5 separate regions of the Homo sapiens genome follow, and regions 1, 2, 4 and 5 are each linked to region 3. Evidence: promoter capture Hi-C in 16 types of primary human blood cells and fetal thymus (Javierre and others, 2016). All regions are on one chromosome and are shown on one strand. Each heading gives the region's core, a stretch centred on a gene start or on the middle of the fragment in contact. The rest is flanking DNA. Distances are from core to core; before and after follow the strand shown. Region 1 holds the start of CFAP65-AS1 (CFAP65 antisense RNA 1). Region 2 has its middle 3.5 kb from the start of LINC00608. Region 3 holds the start of PTPRN (protein tyrosine phosphatase receptor type N). Region 4 overlaps LINC01494 (long intergenic non-protein coding RNA 1494). Region 5 holds the start of LOC124907984 (a long non-coding RNA gene).

Region 1 (2,700 bases), core at 4-2,503, 310 kb before region 3:
AGGTGGTGAACCGCTGTGCCTGGGGGCTTGTCCTTTTCAGTCAGTCTGACTGTCTCAGACGTTTTTAGACTGAAAGAGGGACCAAGGGAGTGTCAGGGAGTGACATCTCAGGATGTCAGCAGCACCACAGAGATCCGAGGAGTGGATTTGAGGCTCCATGGTGGCCCTCAGCTTCCCCCGCCCAGATTTTCCACACCTCAGCCTTGGCTCCAACTCCGTGAGGGCCTGCATCTTCCCCAGCATGACCAGGAGCCCAGGAACCGGGACAGGAGGCTGGGGAGGGCCTAGCCCCTGCGGGAGGCCAGACCAACCGTTCACTGAGCAAATGGGAAAACCAAGAGGCCGGGAAATGACTTGCCCAAGGCCATAGAAGTCGCGGGGACAGAGGCGGACTAGAATCCGGGTTTCCACCTCCAGAAGGGTTTCTGTTCTGGGCCACGGCCCCCTTCGCCACCCGCTGGAGCCGGCTCAGCCCGTATTACGACGCAGAATGGAGCCTGGCAGCCCAGAAGCTGCGGGCAGGGCAAGGCAGGGCGGGTGGGGCCGGATGGGAGCCGGATCTCCCCTGGAGCGGCGCACAGCCTCTCCCACCCGTACGGTTGAGATGGCGGTGGCGGTGGCGGCGGCAGGTGCCTGCGTGGCGATCAGGCCGGCCCCCGGGCTGGTGCTGAGAGGCCGCCCCTGCCTCACGCGAGCCGAACGAACAAAACGCTCAGGTCCGGTTTGTGCGAGGGGCTCGTCGCGGGGCGGGAGCGGAGGGCCCGGGGCCTGGCGGTCGCCCTCGGTGATCTCCTGGTCCTGGTCTTCCGCGAGCTCAGTGCTGCACAGCGCCCCGCTAGCCTCCGCCCTCACCTGAACGCATCTGCGGCTGACACGTCGGCGGCCGCGGCGGCCACCGCAGGTGCGCACCTGGCCCGCCCCTCCTTTCCCAGCCACCCTCCGCCCGGCTTTCCTGGCCCCTCCGCCCGGCCCAGCCTAGCTTGGCTTCGTCCCCAGCCCACGCCTTGGAGCTTGTCCCGGAGCCCGGGCTCCGTGTGCTCTTATACTGCCTGTTCAGTCCCCGCCCCCAGACACACACACTCACACCTGTCCAGGCGCCCGTTTGCTCGGGGCAAATATTGACTCATGGAGGCGGAGCGCTCCCCCCTCCCCCGCCCGGGCTCTGAGACCGGAGCTTCTCCGAGGCCTTGGTGGCGGGGGCGGAGGGGAGGGTGCTGGGGACCCTGGGCGCCTCTGGAACAACACCAGATGTCACTTTTCCACCCACCTGCCTCTGGGAGGGAGGAGCCGAGAAGCAGAGGACAGAAGCTCCCGGGCGGGGGTTAGGAGGAACCGAGAGGTGGGTATCCATCCTCGTCTGAGGACTGATTCACAGTGGGAGTCGCTTAGCAGGGTCTGTGGCCCGAAATCCAGTGGTGACCTCGACCCGCCCCAGCCTAGTTCCTGGCCCTCCGCGGCGTGCCTCAGTTCTTCCTCCCCAGCCTCTTGGGCACTCGGAGCTCGGCAAATGCTAAGGGGCTGGCCCTGGGGGTGCTAAGCCTCCGAGCAGGCGCGGCGCGGAAAGGTGAGGGGTGGCCGCCCTGCCCAGTGGACACCTGCTTCGCTGGCCAGGCCTGGCACTCAGTTACTGTGCACCAAGGTGCGCTGGGGCAAAGGCCAGCCAGGCCCCGTCCGGAGCGCCCTCCACTGGCCAGACCCGGTCCAGCGGCCGGCAGCTAGCGGCCAGGTCTCAGTCCAGCTGCAGTGTGGGCGGAGAGGTGCATCCTCCCGGGCCCTAAGTTCCCGCCGCGCCTCTGCAGTCCGCCCGGGCTGCTCCCTGCCATCCTTCCCTCTCAGAGCTCGCGCGCGCGTTCCCCCTCGTCGGGGAAATAAAGTCAAGGTAGATACAGAAAAAAGACTAGATGCTTTTACTGGCGGTGGAGAGGGGGCCAGGCGTGACCCCTAGCGGCATGTCGGAGAGGCTGGGCGCGGGCATTTACGGAAGGTCGGTAGGAAGTGGCACCACCGGGTGGAGTACCTCTGCTTGCTGCGTCGGCAGCAGCGTGTCCGGGGTCAGACTCCTGGAAGACAAAAAGTCCCAGGTAGGCGTGGGGGCGAGGCTTCGGGCAGAGCCTGGCTGCCCCCGTGGCCCCTCTCGCGCGGTCTGCGCGGCCGCTGGTCCCGGCGCCCTTACCTGGGCACGCAGAACGGCGGCAGGGCGATGACGCGTGGCCGCGAGGTGAGTACCACCTCCCCGCGGCTCGCCTCCACCAGGATGTTCTGGATCATGTTCTCCAGCAGCGCCTCCTGCAGGTTGGCGAAGGCCGGGAGCCTGCGAGGGGGCGGGGGCTAGCATGAGGGCGGCCGCAGTGCCCGCGCGCCTCCTCGCTCGCCTGTCCGTGCGGTACATTGTGCCGCGAGCTCTACGGAGATTCCCATTCGACTCCCCTCATCCACTACACTATGGGGCATTCTTGTTTCAATGTTACGGACGTTCCAAGTGTGGCTAAAAGATTCCAAGTTGCCAAATATGCTGCTGGTTTAAGGGGTGGGATTCAAACCCAGGCGATGTAGTAGGCATCTCAGGGCCAAGTTTAGAGAAAGGTAGGGAAGTGATGAGAGGGCGCAGAAGGGACTGGGTGGGGCCTAGGGAATCCCTACAATGACATAAATCATCTGTAGGGCAGCCCCGGCGGGAAGTCCCACCTGCAAGACAGGTGG
Region 2 (2,700 bases), core at 191-2,690, 340 kb before region 3:
TAATGTCCATGCATCAGGGTATAGTAGAACTATCCTGAGATTTGCAGCAAATCTGGACTCTGCTATTTCCTCACTGTGGGAACTTGGGACTTTGTTTTCCTCATCTGTTATATAGGAATCATGATCATCTTCCCACTACATATATATATATATATATAATATTGATATATTTTATATATAGAATATTGATATATTATATATAGAATATTGATATATTATATATAGAATATTGATATATTATATATAGAATATTGATATATATTATTATATACAATAATGTATGACGTTAATATGTTATATACAATAATGTATGACGTTAATATGTTATATACAATAATGTATGACGTTAATATGTTATATACAATAATGTATGACGTTAATATGTTATATACAATAATGTATGACGTTAATATGTTATATACAATAATGTATGACGTTAATATGTTATATACAATAATGTATGACGTTAATATGTTATATACAATAATGTATGACGTTAATATGTTATATACAATAATGTATGACGTTAATATGTTATATACAATAATGTATGACGGTAATATGTTATATACAATAATGTATGACGTTAATGTTATATACAATAATGTATGACGTTAATATGTTATATACAATAATGTATGATGTTAATATGTTATATACAATAATGTATGTTAATATGTTATATACAATAATGTATAATGTTAATATGTTATATACAATAATGTATAATGTTAATATGTTATATACAATAATGTATAATATTAATATGTTATATATAATAATGTATAATATATAAGAATATATATTATATATATTTTTTGAGATGGAGTCTTGCTCTGTTATTCAGGCTGGAGTGCAGTGGCATGATCTGGGCTCACTGCAACCTCCGCCTCCCGGGTTCAAGCGATTCCCCTGCCTCAGCCTCCCAAGTAACTGGAATTACAGGCACCCGCCACCATGCCCAGCTAATTTTTGTATTTTTAGTAGAGACAGGGTTTCGCCATGTTGGCCAGGCTAGTCTCGAACTTCTGACCTCAGGTTATCTGCCCACCTTGGTCCCCCAAAGTGCTGGGATTATAGGCATGAGCCATATGCCTTGCCTTTTCCCATGATTAATGAGGCTGCTGCAAGTATCATTTGAAATTGTGTCTATGATGTGATCTGTAAGTTGTAAAGCATATAATAAATACAAGGTGGTCCTGAGTCTGGCCCTCATGTTCATGGTCATAGACATGGCCATTGCACAAATGTGTGTGCAAGATGCCCTAGAACTGTGTGTCAAAAGTAGAAAACCAGGGGGAAAGGTTGGGGGATTGGGAAGGTGATCATAGGAAAGGAGGCTGACTCCAAGAGGTTATCATCGGAGCCTGGGATCTTTTGTCACTTTTCCCATCCATCTCCCTATCTTGTGTTGCTCCAGATCTCTCCATACTGCAGGATAAAAACGGACAGTGCTGCCTGAAGCCTCCCTGACAACCTCCTGCTGTGTTGCTAAGCAACTTGACCTCCTCTTCCAAAAAAGGAACCTAATGCTCAAGGTCTGGCCTTCCAGCCTCCTTTAGTTACTTCCTTCTTCTCTGACCTCAAGGAAGGAAGGAATCTCAAGGAAAGAGCATCTCTGCCTCATGGAGGGAGAACTGGGTGTAGAATTGGAGGATTAGACTGGTGGGAAATGGGATGAACTTGCAAGGCGGGTCTTTGCTTCTGGGCTGATCAGTGTGGGGGATGACAGTTATAGAGCAGCTTTCTGTGCTGGACTCTCTAGGCACAGGCTCTGTCCTTGCAGCAAACCAACAAGGCAGGTATGATCAGTGTTGCCATTTTATGAGGTCACTGAGCCTCACAGAGAGTAAGCAGCCTTCTCAGTCTCACAGGGAATAGGCAGTGGATGAGTCTGAAGCCACGCCCTTCTGGGTTCCTTCTACTCCACCATGCTGTTCGAGATATTTGCAAGGGTCACTGTAGACCACAAGACTTCTAAAATGCATTTCTCACTTTGCTATTTGTCTGGAACCCCTGGTGAATGCTGGAATAGAGCACCTGGCTTGAGGTTGAGCTGGGGTTTGGGCATATAGTTCTGCTACTTCCTTGGCCTCTCAGAATCTCAGAATCTGCTCATTCTTCCAGTAGTGAAGATCAGAGAATAAGGGGTGGGGATAGAGTGAAAACTGGGCTGGCCGGGCTTGAAATGCATCTCTACCACTTGGCAGCTCTGCGATCCCATGCAAGTTATTTAACATTTTGTGCCTCAGTTTTCCTAATTTATAGAATGGGAATAACACTAGAGCCAACTCCAGAGGGTTGTAAGAATTAAATGAATGTAAAGCTCTTTGAATAGTGCCTGGCACATAAAGGTTCAATAAGTATCAGCCCTTATTATTATTACTTCTAGGAGGCTTGAGCATATAAACCTCTTTCACATCCTTAGTGGTTAAGAGAATTCACTGCCACTGAAATCAAACTAGGTCCGCATCCTGCACTGCCCTTTCTCACTGTGTGACTTTAGACGAGTTTCTTAATCCCTCTGTGGCTCAGTTTTCTAATCTATAAAGTGAAGAAAATAATAATGTGTACTTCAGGGTATTATTGTAAAGATCAAATATAATATGGGTATCAGTTATGGTAATGTTAGTTGCTGTAACAAGAAAACTTCCCACTTCCAAATTTCATGTAATAGTCTACATAGAATCATGGGAAGTA
Region 3 (2,700 bases), core at 31-2,530:
TCATAGAATTACTGCAGGAGAGGTTTTGGCCAAATTCTGAAAGAGGAATTTCCTTCCCAAATATGGAAAAGCATCCTATAATGGCCTGGAACTCAGAAGAGGTTCTAGCACACTTCCCCCGGTCGGGGGAAAGAGGGCATGGGTGGGGCTGGGGAGGGTGTCTCTTAGGCATCTCTCCTCGCGCTGTCCCGAGCCGCTGGCGCTGTCCGCGGTGCTGAAGCTCTGAGTCTGGCGCCGCCAAGGGCTGGCCTTGGAGGCGGTTACCAGAGAGGAAGGGGTCACAGAGCGAGGACTCTCCACTAGACCTGAGCCCTCTGTTGTATTCTGCCAACCCACAGCGTCACAGGAAGTACTCTGCCTCTCGGGCCTCCAAGCCCGGGTGGGGAAAGAGGGCGCCAGGCGGCGAGGCTGCGCCCCTTCCCCCACGCGCCACCCTCCCATCCCCCACCCCCTGTCCGTGAGTCAGCGCTGACTGTCTCTGTCCGCACAGATGTGAGTCAGCACCAGGCCTGGCTGTGGGGAGGGGGACAAGAGAGGACCCTCCCCTCTTCATCCTCTTCTGCCCCCTCCCCGTGCTGTCCCCCGTTACAGGAGATCAGATCGCTGCAATCAGCTTCTCTAGGCTTACGGAGAAACCCTGGCCTCTCTCTCTGCCCAGCTGGGACTCTATGTCTGCGGCCCAGGCTTCCACTGCCCAGAGATCACCGTTCCCTCATTCTCCCCGCCACCTCCCCTTCCCATTCCTCAGCGCCTGTCACCACCTCCCAGGCGCCTCGGAGCAAGTGGCTTCTCCTGTGGTCTCGCAGCCGGTCTCTAAGTCCCTCTGCCCACATGCACCCCGTGTCCTTCTCCCGAACCTGCAATTTTCCCCAGAGCCCAATTCTCTTAGGTCCCGCCCCCGTATTCCCAGCCCCACCTCCAGGCCTACGCCCCTTTCCTCCGAGACGCCCTCTCACCTTCCTCATCTCGCATGCCTCCCCCAACCCATATTCTCCCCGAGCTTCATGACATTTCACCCTCACCCCCACCGAGTTTCGCTCCAGGCCCCAAGCTGCTCCCCGCCCCCCACCACCCGCCAGCCCAAGTTTCCTCCTGACCGTGGGCACTAACGGCGCTGCAGCCCCCCGGGCGGCTGCTCAGCAGCAGGAGGCAGAGGAGCAGCCGGAGACCCCCGGATCCCCCGAGACCCCCAGGCCGCCGCGGGCGCCGCATCTTTCCGAGCTCCGGGCGCTCGCTCCCGGGCCGGAGCCGCAGCGACGCTGGCGGGAGCCTGCCAGAGGGGCTGAGGCGGGGCTTGCCGCTCCCCACCTCCCTACGAGGCGGGGTCTACATGCCCCTCTCGCTGCAACGCGGCCAACCGCAGGCGGGTGCTGACGACACCTCCACCCCCGGCTCGTAAGCTAATTTGCGTCACATATGGCGTAAGAGCCCTGTCGGAGCGGGGGACCTACCTAGCCCATCCCTCCTCCATCAAATAGTAGGCGCCTCGCTAGAATTCCCACTTGGCCCCATCCCTGTAGCCCTCTTCTAGGATCACCTCTGTCTCCCCGCCCCAGGGTGGGTGAAAAGGGTTAAGTTAAGTGGGGGGCCAGGAAAGATAGGTGGGTCCAGAACGATAAACCCGAAGACAAGAAGCAGAAAAGTGGGTAGAATAAGTACTCTTACTCATTGTCATTGAAGATACTGTTCTCTTCCTTAAGAAAAAATGGTTAGGCATGCCTAGATTCCAGTTCTAGCAGGGCATCTACTAAGGGTATGACCTTGGGCACCTTGTTTAACTTGTCTGCGTCCAAGTTTCCTGATCTGCAAAGTGGAGGTGTTAATAGTTACTACCCGCCTCACACAGTGATTGTGAAGATTTTGTTCGTTACACTAATATGGATCACTTAGAAGGATGACTGGACTGGTGCATACTACATGCTCCATACATATTAGCTGTCATCATTAGCTTTTATTTATTTTTTATTGAGATGGAGTCTTGCTCTGTTGGCCAGGCTGGATACTGGCGTGATCTTGGCTCACTGCAATGTCCACCTTCTGGGTTCAAGCCATTCTCCTGCCTCAGCCTCCCTAGTAGCTGGAATTACAGGCGCACAGCACCTTGCCCGGCTAATTTTTGCATTTTTATTGGAGATGGGATTTCACCTTGTTGGCCAGGATGGTCTTGAACTCTTGACCTCAGGTGATCCAACGGCCTTCGCCTCCCAAAATGCTGGGATTACAGGTGTGAGCTACCGGGCCTGGCCTCATCATTAGCTTTGACTCTCCTTTCTCTCCGTCTGTGCCACCTCGAGGCTATCAATCATTTTATGGTTTCTCCCTGCAAAATACATCTCCCATCAGTCCACTTCTGTCCATCCTCACTACCTGAACTGAAACACTGTGCTCTTTCACCACGACCACTGCAGCAATCAGCTAGTAACTGCTCTTTTGCTTCCACTCTAGTCATCCAATAAGTAGGGGAGTGAGCTTCTTAAGTTCAGATTTGATCTCCTTCCTCTCTTGCTTTCCAGTAAAATAAAATAAAATTTAAAAAGGACAGAAATGCATAATGAATACTTACATACTCATCATCCATACTTAATGGTTATTGATGTTTTACAATATTTGCTTCTTTTTAGTATTTAAACATGAATGATAGACATCATGACATTTCTCTTCTAAATATTTCATTATGCATCTCCAAGAAATAAGGACATT
Region 4 (2,700 bases), core at 78-2,577, 400 kb before region 3:
ATCTTTCTTTTTTTTTCTTTTGAGACAGAGTCTCGCTCTGTCACCCAAGCTGGAATGCAGTGGTGTGATTTCAGCTTACTGCAACCTCTGCCTCCTGGGTTCAAGCAATTCTCCTGCCTTAGCCTCCTGAGTAGCTGGTATTACAGGTGTGCACCACCATGCCGGGCTAATTTTTGTATTTTAGTAGAGACAGGGTTTCGCCATGTTGGCCAGGCAGGTCTTGAATTCCTGACCTCAGGTGATCCACCCATCTTGGCCTCCCAAAGTGCTGGGATTACAGGTGTGAGCCACCACACCTGGTCTCCTGTGATCTTTCTTGAAGTTCCAGCTGCCAGCTAGACATGTTTTAATGTATGCCTGTGATACCACCCACTCAAGCTTTATTTTATTTTATTTTATTTTTGAGACAGAGTCCTGCTCTGTCACCCAGGCTGGAGTGCAATGGCGCCATCTCAGCTCACAGCAACCTCTGACTCCTCTGCCTCCCAGGTTCAAGCAATTCTCCTGCATCAGCCTCCTGAGTGGCTGGGATTACAGGTGGCCTGCCACCACGCCCAGCTCATTTTTTGTATTTTTAGTAGAGATGGGGTTTCACTATGTTGGCCAGGCTGGTCTTGAACTTCTGACCCCAAGTGATCCACCTACCTCAGCCTCCCAAAGTGCTGGGATTACAGGCGTGAGCCACCATGCCCGGCTCAAGCTTTATTAATGCAGATTCATTATCTTATGTATGTATTTGCTAAGGGCTGAGACTTTGTTTTGTTTACTGTTCTTTTCTCAATGCCTAGCACAGTGCTTGGCATAGACCAGGCATTTAATATTTGTTGAATAAGTGAATGAATGACTTTCCCCTCCAAACCAGTTCTCCTTAACTTGCTTGTTTCTCTTTGTCACATCATCATTTTCTTAGTCACTGAACCTCAAAACTGGTGTAAACTTGGACTCTCACCTTCTCTTCTCCTTTCTATATTCAATCAGTGGCCAAGATCTGCTTATTCTTCCACTTCATTCACATGGTCAATATCCTAGTTCACCACACACCTCAAACATCACAACGACCTTCCAACTAGCCTCTGTCATTCCTCTTTCTTCCTCTTCAATCCATCCCTATCCTATTGTTCTGTTTTTCTCTCCCACGAAGTGCTCTGATCATGTCATTTCCTCTGACTAAAGCTCTCAATGGATCTTTGTACCAATTTGGGTTCTTAATTGCAAACAACAGAAACAGACTCTGGTTCACTTAGTAGAAGAGGAATTTACTGGGATGACATCAGGGAACTCAAAGAATTGACAGGAAGCCTCAAGAATCAGGCTCAGGAAGCAAGCAGGAGCCAAGAGAAGCTAGGCAGCTAGAACTTTAGCTAAATCCTGTCCCAAGTGCAGCCTGATTAAGGGGCTTGGGGGCTGCTTCCCACATGGCTACCACCACCCTGAGCACTTGCTGCTGCCACCTCTGGGATGAATTATAAACAGTCCTCTTCCTCCTTGGGTCACTTGTTGAAGATTTAGAGTCCTGACTGGGAGCATTGATTTGGCTGTGATCTTCCTGCTAGGGGCCAGGTGAGCAAGTATCTGACTTCTCACTAAGACTCACATTAGGGAGGCTCCACCAACATATGAAGGGGGCTCAGATGCTGGGCAGCTAAAGACTCCAGTGTGTATCCATATGCAGGTTCCTGAGCATTGAAGCCCTCCACCATATGCCACAAACGATCATCTCCAGTTTTTTCTCACTTCCACACCATGTTCCACTGAAGCATGACTGTGTGCAGTTCCCTGAGCAGTCCTTTCCTGCCTCAGCCCCTGTAATAGCTGGGCCCCAAAGGTGGTCCGCCTTGAATCATGCTTCACACCTGTGTATTGTCCCCTCCCCTTGAAAGGGCCAGTCCATGCTTCCTTTTCACTGAGTGTGCTGTGGAAGCGAAGCTGCATGACTGCTGAAGAGAGGGAATAGGAAGCTTTGCAGTTTTTGCCTCAGTCGCTCGGAATGTTCACTCTGGGGCAAGCCAATCACCGTGTATGAGGTCTGTCTACCCAGAGACTACCATGCTATGAGGAACCCGAAACAAGCCACATGGGAAGGCTGTATAGAGAGAGTAATGCCTGGGCAGGCCCCTTCAGTTCCAGCCAATTCAGATGAGGTGCCAGACATGTGACTTTAAAAAGTCATCTTGGGGCTGGGCTCAGTGGTTCACACCTGTAATCTCAGCACTTTGGGAGGCCGAGGCAGGCGGATAACTTGAGGCCAGGAGTTCAAGACCATCCTGGCCAACATGGCGAAACCCCATCTCTACTAAAAATACAAAAAATTAGCCAGACATAGTGGCACATGCCTGTAGTCCCAGCTTCTCGGGAGGCTGAGGCATGAGAATCACTTGAACCTGGGAGGTGGAGGTTGCAGTGAGTGAGATTGCGCCACTACAGTCCAGCCTGGGTGACGAAGTGAGGCTGTGTCTTCAAAAATAAATAAATAAATAAATAAATTTTTAAAAAGTCATCTTGGATATCCAGCCGAGTTGAGCCTTCAGATGACTCCAGCCTTAGCCACCATCTAACTGAACTGCTTGAGAGACCCCACGTGAGAACTGCCCAGCTGACTGTAGTCAACCCACAGGACTGTGGGATGTAAATGGTTATTTTTAAGCCACTGAATTTTGGAGCGGTTTGTTACTCAGTAATAGAAAATGGAAACAGCCCCTC
Region 5 (2,700 bases), core at 11-2,510, 380 kb before region 3:
TTTCTACCACATGGCCAGGCTGCAAATTTTCTAAACTTATATGCTGTACTTCCCTTTTAAATGTAAGTTCCAGTTTCAGATCATCTCTTTGTTCATGCATATGAGCATACACTTTTAGAAACAGCCAGTTTACCTCCTGAATGCTTTGCTGCTTAGAAATTTCTTCCAGCAGATACCCTAAATCATCTCTCTCAAGTTCAAAGTTCCACAGATCTCTAGGGCAGGGGAAAAAATGCTACCAGTATCTTTGCTAAAGCATAGCAAGAGTGACCTTTACTCTAGTTCTCAATAAGTTCCTCATCTCCATCTGAGACCACTTGAGTCTGGACTTCATTGTCCATATCACTATCAGCATTCTCATCAAAACAATTCAACAAATCTTCATGAAGTTCCAAACTTTCCCACGTCTTCCTGTCTTCTTCTGAGCTTTCCGAACTGTTCCAACCTCTGCCTGTTACCCAGTTCCAAAGTTGCTTCCACATTTTCAGATATCTTTATAGCTGTTATAAATAATTTTCTGTATAGTCCATTTTCACACTGCTATAAAGAGCTGCCTGAGACTGAGTAATTTGTGAAGAAAAGAGGTTTAATTCACTCACAGTTCTGCAGGCTTAACAGGAAGCATGGCTGGAAAGCCTCAGGAAACTTACAATCATGGCAGAACTTAAAGGGGAAGCAAGCGTGTCTTACCATGGCAGAGCAGGAGAGAGAAAGAGTGAAGGGGAAGTGCCACACACTTTCAAACAACCAGATCGCATGAGAATTCACTCACAGTCAAGAACAGCAATGGGGAAGTCCATGCCCATGATTCAATCACCTCTCACCAGACCCCTCCCCTGACATGTGGGGATTAAAATTCAAGATGAGATTTGGGTGGGGATGCAGAGCCAAACCATATCACATGGTCAACACAAGCTTCTTGGTGATGCCCCAAACTTCAGAACCAGTTAAAGGTTTACCATCAGCCAGAAGAGCTGTGGGAATGAGCCTCCCAGAAAGAAGAGATGGAAGGTGTTTGGCATCTGCAGTGATGATGATGATGATGATCATGATCATGATCATGATGCTGGCTAAATGCCGACTCTGAGCCCTGCATGATGGTAAGCAGTGTCTATGGATTGGCTCTTTAATCCTCATAACAATGTCTATCTAATGTCTATCTAGAGGTAGATATTAAGATAATGCCTATTTTTCAAATGAAGAAACTGAGCCTCCAAGAGATTAAGTAACTGGCTCAAGGTCACACAGTTGGTAAATTGAAACATGAGTGCTTACATGGATGTTTTCCAGGGATTGAGGCCGCATTAACTGGTGGGGAGAGAAATGAAGAGCCCAGCACAAGGGGTGGACTGATGGGAGCATGTTTGGGCTAGTGGGAATAATAATAAAAAATAATAGTCAGCACTTATTGAATGCTTACTAAGTGGCTGGCATTGTTCTAAGCACTTTTACATGCATTAACTCGAGGTGAAATAAAACCCAAATACACAGAACTGGCAAATGAGGGTCCATGCTTGAGGGTTTGGAAAGACTTGGAAATACCCTTTGGGCACATCAAGCAGGCAAAAAAAAAAAAAAAAAAAAAAAAAAATCAGCTGCATTTTGGAAGCTTCCTCTGATCAAAGATACCCATTCATCCAACATTTATTTATGAAATGCCTGTTGTTTCCCAGGCATTGTTCTAGGCACTGAGAACAGGACAGATTCCAGGAGAAGGAGAAGTCCAGGAACACAAAAAGATAGAAAGAAATACTCAGAAGTGCCATATTTTTTACCTTTTCATTGATACTACCAGAAAAGGGAAAAAATAAATACTGTTTGATTTTGCCACCAGGCACCACAAAACTGCGCCCCTGCCTGATTTCATTTCAGCAAGCTTTACTGTGAAGTGTTTATGTGCCAGGTACCATGTGTAGAAGCGCTGGCCCAGAGATGAAGATGAAGTTTCTATCCTTAAGGCATGCAATGTGGGAGATGAACAGGTAAGTGGATAATTACATTACAAGTGATTCGTGCCATGATTGAGGTGTGAACAAAATTCCACGGGAGCAAAGAAGAGTGGCTAATTCTGCCTAGGGGTGTCAGATAATGTTTAATGGAGGAAGGGGGCATCTCAACTGGGCCTGAGGGAGGACTAGGAGATTGCCAGGTGGAGATGGGGAGAAAAGACCTCTAGAGAGGAGTAGTTTGTGGACAGAATGATCTAATTGCAGATACTAAGTTCTGAAATGTGGACTGTGCATGGACAGCCTAGTACCCTGACAATTGTGAGGGCAGGGGAGTCCACAGAGATTACTAATTTATTGAAAAAGCACTGAGGCTTGTGTTGGTGCCAGCTAAAAAGACTGAGTTGATAAACAACCCATCTTTGTTTCTCTATGCAGAAATCACCCAGACACCTGCCATATTTTTTCTAGCCTATGTTTAAGTTAAGGTGTCAAAAAGACTTGAAGTGCTCCTGTACACATTTGGGGAGGGGAGTATATTGGTACAACCCCTGTGGAAGGCAGATTGGCAACATCTGCCAGAATTACAAAGGCATATAGCTTGTGACCCAGCAAGTTCACTTCTAGGAATTTATCCTTGGATGCACTCAGTCACATGTAAAATAACTTATGTACGAGTATTCATCACATCATTGTAACAGCAAAAGATTGGAAAAAAAGTAAGTGCTCATTACAAGGGAATTGGTTAAGTACA

What was found. Contacts are between HindIII fragments. The CHiCAGO score rates a contact against its expected background, and 5 or more counts as called.
Region 1: a contact is called between the fragment with the promoter of CFAP65-AS1 here and the fragment with the promoter of PTPRN in region 3, in 4 of 17 cell types (erythroblasts, M2 macrophages, M0 macrophages and 1 more). The highest score is 7.4, in erythroblasts.
Region 2: a contact is called between a fragment that was not itself captured here and the fragment with the promoter of PTPRN in region 3, in 2 of 17 cell types (M2 macrophages and neutrophils). The highest score is 7.0, in M2 macrophages.
Region 4: a fragment that was not itself captured here is called in contact with the fragment with the promoter of PTPRN in region 3 in 1 of 17 cell types (M2 macrophages); the score reaches 6.1 in M2 macrophages.
Region 5: a contact is called between a fragment that was not itself captured here and the fragment with the promoter of PTPRN in region 3, in 2 of 17 cell types (M0 macrophages and M2 macrophages). The highest score is 6.6, in M0 macrophages.

What each region holds. Positions count from the first base shown.
Region 1 is chr2:219,000,962-219,003,661 of GRCh38, forward strand. CFAP65-AS1 (CFAP65 antisense RNA 1) reads left to right here and starts at 1,254. Exons shown (of 3, transcript NR_046086.1): 1 at 1,254-1,339. It overlaps CFAP65 (cilia and flagella associated protein 65), which reads right to left. Exons shown (of 35, transcript NM_194302.4): 34 at 2,174-2,311; 35 at 1,885-2,060. The coding sequence ends at 1,976. MIR375 (microRNA 375) reads right to left here and starts at 747; the gene lies at 684-747. RefSeq lists an enhancer at 1,026-1,320. The HindIII fragment of the contact is 13,795 bases long and covers 1-2,700 here.
Region 2 is chr2:218,971,431-218,974,130 of GRCh38, forward strand. No RefSeq gene overlaps it. Among named protein-coding and RNA genes, the nearest start is that of LINC00608, 3.5 kb to the right of the region's middle. The HindIII fragment of the contact is 5,553 bases long and covers 1-2,700 here.
Region 3 is chr2:219,308,121-219,310,820 of GRCh38, forward strand. It overlaps PTPRN (protein tyrosine phosphatase receptor type N), which reads right to left and starts at 1,281. Exons shown (of 23, transcript NM_002846.4): 1 at 1,098-1,281. The coding sequence starts at 1,212. The HindIII fragment of the contact is 26,349 bases long and covers 1-2,700 here.
Region 4 is chr2:218,903,220-218,905,919 of GRCh38, forward strand. All of the region lies in intron 4 of LINC01494 (long intergenic non-protein coding RNA 1494), which reads right to left. Among named protein-coding and RNA genes, the nearest start is that of WNT10A, 24 kb to the left of the region's middle. The HindIII fragment of the contact is 1,258 bases long and covers 699-1,956 here.
Region 5 is chr2:218,924,222-218,926,921 of GRCh38, forward strand. The region is part of intron 2 of LINC01494 (long intergenic non-protein coding RNA 1494); the gene reads right to left. It overlaps LOC124907984 (a long non-coding RNA gene), which reads left to right and starts at 671. Exons shown (of 2, transcript XR_007088091.1): 1 at 671-1,982. The HindIII fragment of the contact is 694 bases long and covers 914-1,607 here.